Linked DNA regions of Homo sapiens: region 1 is linked to region 2. Evidence: promoter capture Hi-C in 16 types of primary human blood cells and fetal thymus (Javierre and others, 2016). All regions are on one chromosome and are shown on one strand. The core of a region is centred on a gene start or on the middle of the fragment in contact, and the rest is flanking DNA. Distances in the headings are between cores, read along the strand shown.

Region 1 (3,908 bases), core at 314-2,813, 300 kb after region 2:
AAATGATTTTGTTGCAATGTGTGGCTCAGGCTGGAGTGCAATGGTGCAATCATAGCTCACTGCAGCCTTGAACTCCCAGGCTCAAGCAATCCTCTCACCTCAGCCTCCTGAATAACTGACTACAGGTGTGTGCCCCCATGCTCAGCTAAACTTAAAAACATTTTTCAGAGACAGAGTTTTGCTATGTTGTTTAGACTTCTCTCACACTCCTAACCTCAAGCAATCCTCCTACCTCAGCCATCTGAGTAGCTGGGATTATAGCCACGAGCCACCATGCCTGGCGAGATTTACTTCTTTACCCACCAGTAAATCAACCTCAATAAATTCTTGGAATTTGGAGTGGTGAGAGGGTGAGCAAGCATATATGTATGTGAGTATGTATACATTTGTATGTCACTGAAGCTGTCAGGAATTTTTATTGTAAGGACTACTTGAGGTTAATTACTGTGCATCATGTCAATCCTATTTAGTTCCTAGTACATATTAGGAACAAGCTCGGGATAGTGGTGTTTGTTTTTTCTCAGCTTTCCTTGGCCAGAATGGTTACCATGGTGACTCAGTGACTGCGGTGTGATTTGGTGCAGACTGAGCATCCATTTAGGATTCTTGCCCGAATCTCTCACACCACATTGCCTGTCCATCAGATATAGTATTAGCTTTTCATCTTATGTGTAATTAATCACTTTTCAAGGGCTCAGAAGAAAGTTGCTTCACTTATCTGAGGTTAAGCTACAGATAACATAAAAAGACACTAAGTACCTTGAAATAAAAGGAAATGAGTTGTTGATATTCCTCTCCTGCCCCAATCTCTATTGGGAGGTTAGAAGAGAAATTCTTGGAATCATACAGCATGTGCTCTTTTGTGTCTTGCTTCTTTCAGTCAACATAATGTATGTGAAATTAATATTTATTGTGGTCTATATTGTAGATTGCTTATTCTCATTGGTGTAAAGTATTATATTATTTGGATATTTCACACTATATTTATCTGTGATGGAGATTTGTGTATTTTCCAGTTTTTGACATCTCATGAATAATGGTGTTATGAATGTTCATGTTCATTCTTTTGGATGAACATATATTTTCTTTTTTAAAAAAATCTTATTATCAATAATATTTGAACTATTTAATATCTGTCATCTTAAAATTATTATTCATAACACTTTTTACCTTGTAGCTATAGACAAATACATTCCCATTTTAGCAGGTTAATGAAATTATCTTTATAATACTATAGAAGCATTTATTTGAAGAATACCAGAAGGAACATCCTGAAAACCAAGAACTCAAAATGCCTTTTTATCCCAAAGACATGTTTTACAAATATATACCCATTCATCCATTTGTTTTCACAAATGAAGCTACAGAGAACTTTGAATATAATGATGTGCAGCAGGGGCTTATTCCTAACATATTTAAAATTTAGGTCAACCAAACTTCTCTGTGGAAACTGAGTTGAAATCCGAAATCTTACAATCCTAATTTCGAGCCACATTCATTTTAACTTAATTTTAACATGTTTTGCAAAATGTTCCAATATAAACTTAATAGTTCCTATACCACCAAACATGGATCCTCATGATTTTATTTTCTAGATTGGCTGATAGGCTGAATAATCTCCTGTAGGGTAAGAAGTGTCAACTGTATCAAGCACATGGAGGTGGACTGGCTACAGGAGAAAGGTTTTCCAAATCAAATTCCAAGTATTTCTTTCTCTTTTTATATTACCATTAGGAGAAATAACTAATGTAGATGACGGGTTGATGGGTGCAGCAAACCACCATGGCACGTGTATACCTATGTAACAAACCTGTACATTCTCCACATGTATCCCAGAACTTAAAAGTATAATAAAAAAATTTAACAAAATGGTGTTAGATTCAGAGGCTTGATTCAATTTAGATTTGTTTTGGTCAGAAGTACTTCATATGTGGTATTGTTTATTCCTATAGTGTTACACAGGGGGCTCATTGTGTCTAATTGTCTCTCCTCTTGTGATGTTAAGATTAATTACTATGTTCAAGTATTGTTAAGCTGATCCATCCATTATAAAATTTCCCATCCCTTTTTCACCTCGATTTTTCTGCAGCGTCTAAGGATTGTTGCTTAGTTCTATATTCATTAAAGGTCATAAAAGGATGATATTCTAATTCTATAATTTTCTCTGCTTTATTAGCTGGAATTATTCTATTAAATAAACTTTCATAAACCATTAGGTTACACTGAGGGATAGTATGTATAGAAAGGGTTGGATGAGTGCCTAATTCTTTTGCAATATTTCCACTTTTCAAAACAATGAGTTGTTTCCCTAGGGTTCTCCAAAGGCAAGCAATGAGTTGATATTGTTTGTTTTATTTTATTTTTCTTTTAGAGTGTCATCATGAGCTGTAGAAGTTTTTATATTATAATGTGTTTTAATCCATAGTAGTCATTATTTTATTTAATGTTCAAATTGCTTCATCTTTGTCCAGCGAGAGCCCCTTAAGCTTGGCTTCTGAGTCTTTTTGACGCACTCTCTGGCATGATAGTTTGGTCCAGATTCATCTAGTAGAATGGCTACACAGACCTAAACTCAGTCATTTCTCTAAGATAACCTAGTTCCTTTCAGTGTGATGTGTTTTAAGTGGATTCAATATGGGCACTAGAGTTGCTCATTGCTACTGGGTCTATCATGTTTCTTCACCTTTCTAGTGCATGGAGCCAGTGTATATATATTATATTTTTAAGGGAAAAGACATTATTGGCTTCTGTCCTGGGCTGTTTTTCCTTCTCTTTATAGGTAATGATTTTTTAAATCAATTTTCATTAAAACTTTCCAATTTTAAAAATATAAGCAAATAGAATGTTTCTATTAGTTTTCTCCTATTCCATATATATAAGGTGACATATTCTACACTGGTGGAGTCCAATAGAATTTCTACAAAGGTGAAAATATTCTATGTCTCAACTGTCCAACATAGTAGCCACTAGCTACCTGTGACTATTAAACACCTAAAATGTGGTGAGTGTGACTGAGGAAGTGAATTTAAAATTCCATTTAAATTTAGTTAACTTAAATAGCCATGAGTGGCCAGTGGGTATGGTATGGGACAACAGCAGCTCTACACATTTTTCTGCACTTTGCTTTATTCACTTAATGGTATATCCTGGAAATCACTACATAGCAGCAGAGAGAGGGAATCTTCCTTGCTTGTTATACCGGCATTGAAATCTAGGATGTAGATGCACCTTAGATTATTCAGTCAGTCCTTTATTGGTGGACATCTGTCTTATTTCCAGTCTTCTGCTGTTACAATTTGTTCTGCCAAGAATGACCTTGTGCTTCTGCCTTTTTATCTTTTTGAATTGTATCTTTGGGATACATTCTCCGAAGATTGTTGGTTCCAAGATAAAATAATTGTGCCCTATGAAATAGAAGATTTGAAACAGAGAGCATTTAGAAATATAGTAGCAATAAATGAATGTTGGTTTTATCTTATCATTCCTTTGATTCCATGTACTCTCTGCTCTCTTATTTTCTTTCTAGTGTGACGTGGGTGAAGGAGTTCTTATTGAGCCATGGGAGGAAGAAATAGTACAGAAGAGCAAAGAATAATAATGAGTCAGCTAGACAGAAGACAGGAGTCATCAGATTTGTACCCTAGTTACTCGACCCATCAACTGACTGTGGTTTTTGGGGTGAGTCTCTTCCCTCTGTTGGCCTCTGGTCTAACACAGAAGGATACTCAGTATAGAAATAGTGGTTAGGGGAGGGGGCTTTTGGGTGAGAAGGACTTGGATTTGACCCTGATAACCATTACTTGCTGGTTGCATGATCTGTATCAACCAATTTATCTACCGTGTGCCCTGTAACTATTTATGTCTTTTATTATTATTCCTATCATGCATACAAAGACTGAATGATAAAA
Region 2 (3,866 bases), core at 553-3,052:
GGCGCCCGCCACCACACCTGGCTAATTTTTGTATTTGTTGTAGAGACAGGGCTTCACCATGTTGGCCAGGCTGGTCTTGAACTCCTGGCCTCAAGTGATCCACCCACCTGGCCTCCCAAAGTTCTGGGATTACAGGTGTGAGCCAATGCACCGGGGCCCATAACTGATATTTTAAAAACAGAATGCCAACTTCCTGTCTTTAATGTTTTTCTGCCTCATTCATAACCCAGTGGGAAATCTCCTCATGATGTCTTAAGAAACAGTACGGTCTCATTTTTTGGAAATGGTTTGGCGATAGTCCTTCCAGAAACAGGAAGGTGTGGAATACATAATTTGTCTTCCATCTTGTAACTGTAGTTTTAAAACACACTGGAAAATCGAGGTATCAATTTGAGTAATTTCAAGCTGGGAGGTGGGATGGACATCTCTACTTTCATTTGAATTACCCAAAGTAGATCTTGCAGCAATTTTTTTTCCTCAGTGATCTAGATAATCATTTCACTTTTTTTCTCTCTTTGCTGTGGAAATGTAAAATTTACTACAGTGCAGTGTTTTTCTTACACTTGATTTTAGGGCAGATAAACTGTAATATACTGTCTTAGCCCATTTGGGCTGCCCTAACAAAATACCATAAGCTTGGTAGGCTATAAACTACAGAATTTCATTTCTCAGCTCTGGAGGCTAGGAAGTCCAAAATCAAGGCATCCGCACATTCAGGGTCTGGTGAGGTCTTGATTTCTGGTTCACAGATGGCACCTTCCAGCTCTGTGGAAGGGGGAAGGGGTTTCTCCTGGGCCTCTTTTATAAGGACACTAATCCCATTTATGAGGGCTTCACCCTTGTGACCTAATCACCTTCCAAAGGCCCCATCTCCTTATAATGCCATAACCTTGGGGGGTTAGGATTTCAACCTATGAATTTTGGAGGGGGACAAAAAGATTCAGAGCATAGCATACACCTTTTGATAAAACGTTAATGTGCATGATTTGGGATATTCACTAATGTTTTCTTTTTCCAAACTGGTCATTTTAATTTCCTCAAGTTTCCATCACCAAAAGAGCTCTCATTCTTTACTACTTTCTCTTTAAGAGAAGGAAGGGATAATGACAAAAGCTAGGCATGTTTATGGAATAAAGGAAAAATTATTAAATGCCTTCTTACTGATATGCTTGCCAAAACTGGTGAGCAAGGATCTCTTATTCTGCTAGTGATGGTAGTGGTAATAATGTGTGAAAGGGTTTTTTTTTAAGGGGGCAAGAAGTTACTTAATATTTTCCCAGTGAAAATAAGCATCTTCACAGCTCAAGATGTGGCGTCGTCACCTGTAGTCATATAGAAACTGCTGCAGTGATCTTTGTGTCTTCATAAATCTCTTTGCCTTCTCCAAGGAAACACAGAGAATGATGATTCAGTTATATATAAATGTCTTTTTAAACAGTGGGTTTTGTGTGTGCAAGCATGTGTATTTTTAAGTAATCTGTCAGTTCCTTTCGTGCTGTATGAACTATGGGTAAATGTATAATGGTCTCACTATAACACTCCTGAATTTTAATCAGACCTGCCAAGCTGTGCCACATCTAGTTAACTGATTGATAAAAAGAATTGGGAAATGCTGCCTTAATGAAAGAAATAGCTCTTAATTCAACATTAGCTATATTGATTAGAGTAAAAATACAAATCACACTTTCCTGTGGTGCATTCATGAGGAAGCAAGAAACAGGCTCATATCATCTCTTTTCTCTTACGTTGTTCCTGGCTGCCTTAGAAACGACATATCCAAGGGTGTGTCCTGTAATATATTGCTCAACATAGAGTCTGTTAATAGATGAACAAGTGCCAGTAGCCTCTGAGTTCTCTCTTTTTCCATTTGTTCCCTGCTAGAAAACTTAGAGTGACCGATAAATGCTTTAAAATGTTCTTTTTTTCTGATTACAAAAGCCATACACATCCACCGTAGAAAAATGAAGTAATGAAAGAAATAGAAAAGCAAGATTTAAAAAATTAAAGTCATCTGTAATGTAATCCTATTAACCTGAGATAAGCAGATTTTAACATTTTAGTGTAGATTTTAATATATTTATGTATTTTTAAAATTGATTTGATACTGCACACACTGTAATCTTTTTTACTTAATATATATCTATAGTACTTAACTTTTCTCTAAGACATATATTCTTCTAAGATTATATTTGCTGTTTGCATAATATTGTATTGAAGGGTTTACCACAATTACCCATATTGCTAAACTTTTAATAAAACACTTATTGCTAGACATTTAGGTTGTTTTACAGCTGCCTTCTTTTCATAAAATAAAGCATCAGTGAAGTTCCTTAATATCAATCTTAACTCTCACCTCTGTTTATTTCCTACTAGTAAAATTTCTAGGTCAAAGATTATGAATTTTTTATTAATTTTAATATATACTGGCAAATTGGCCTCTAGAAACTTATCCCAAATGACATCAACACCAGTAGAATAAGAGGAAGACTATCTTTCCAACACCCAAACGTATGGACTATTATCTTCCTTTTTAACCCCATATGTGCAGTCTGATGGGTGAAAAAATGATCTCATGCTGTCATTTACATTTATTTAATTTTTTGAGAGTAATTGTTTATACATTCATTGGCCATTTTTATTTTTCCTTGAGTGAATGGACCCTTATGGGGGTTGGGGAACATTCATTTTTGTTTCTTATTGATTCCAAGGAAATCTTTTTTTATATTGTGGGTATTAACCTTTGATCTTATCCACATTGCTAGTTTTCTGCAATCCCCTCCCATAGATCTTGCCTTTTAATTTTGTTTATGGTATTTTAAAAATATACTGCCATATTATAGAAAAGGTTATGTTCTGATAAATTAGAAAACTGGTGGGTTGGGGAAAGAGAGGTGCTTATTTGATTTGTCCTTTGTTTCTGATTATACTCGAGACTACTTTTGTTTAGAAAGGTTATGAATCTAAGCTTTGGTCACCATGATAAAAGAATTGCTAGAAATAAAAAATATTCATTCATCCAGATGCTTTAATTGCATGATGTCAAATGACTGGTTTGAATTGAGTCTACTGCTGTAATAATCAGATTATTCTGAAGCCTTGTGTTAAATATAAATGCAGAGATAGAAACAGTTCCACTTTCAACCACAAGGGGGCAATAAAGACCGGTTAGTGTTCCGCCATAGACTAAACTTATATATATGTGTGCATATATATAGTATATATAGAGAGAGTATATATATATATTATATGTATACTTTAATTTCTGGGTTACATGTGCAGAACGTGCACATTTGTAACATAGGTATACACGTGCCATGGTGGTTTGCTGCACCCTTCATCCCATCACCTACATTAGGTAGTTCTCCTAATGTTATCCCTCCCCTAGCCCCCAACCCTTGACAGGCCACAGTGTGTGATGTTCCCCTCCCTGTGTCCACGTGTTCTTATTGTTCGACTCCCACTTATGAGTAAGAACATGCGGCGTTTGGTTTTCTGATCTTGTGATAGTTTGCTGAGAATGATAGTTTCCAGCTTCATCCATGTCCCACAAGAGGACACAAACTCATCCTTTTTCATGGCTGCATAGTATTCCATGGTGTATATGTGCCACATCTTCTTAATCCAGTCTATCATTGATGGACATTTGGGTTGGTTCCAAGTCTTTTCTACTGTGAATAGTGCCACAATAATCATACGTGTACATGTGTCTTTATAACAGAATGATTTATAATCCTTTGGGTACATGTCCTGTAATAGAATTGCTGGGTCAAAAGGTATTTCTAGTTCTAGATCCTTGAGGAATTGCCACACCATCTTCCACAATGGTTGAACTAATTTATACTCCCACCAACAGTGTAAAAGCGTTT

The links. The method cuts DNA at HindIII sites, captures the fragments that hold promoters and counts their contacts. A CHiCAGO score of 5 or more calls a contact.
Region 1: a contact is called between the fragment with the promoter of RAB40A here and a fragment that was not itself captured in region 2, in 12 of 17 cell types (total B cells, total CD4 T cells, naive CD4 T cells and 9 more). The highest score is 14.6, in total B cells.

Annotation. Positions count from the first base shown.
Region 1 is chrX:103,517,144-103,521,051 of GRCh38, reverse strand. It overlaps RAB40A (RAB40A, member RAS oncogene family), which reads left to right and starts at 1,563. Exons shown (of 3, transcript NM_080879.3): 1 at 1,563-1,682; 2 at 3,527-3,678. LL0XNC01-250H12.3 (a long non-coding RNA gene) reads right to left here. Exons shown (of 6, transcript NR_188440.1): 6 at 3,109-3,404. The HindIII fragment of the contact is 4,467 bases long and covers 1-2,488 here.
Region 2 is chrX:103,816,960-103,820,825 of GRCh38, reverse strand. It overlaps a transcript of RAB9B not described here. Among named protein-coding and RNA genes, the nearest start is that of RAB9B, 13 kb to the left of the region's middle. The HindIII fragment of the contact is 2,330 bases long and covers 638-2,967 here.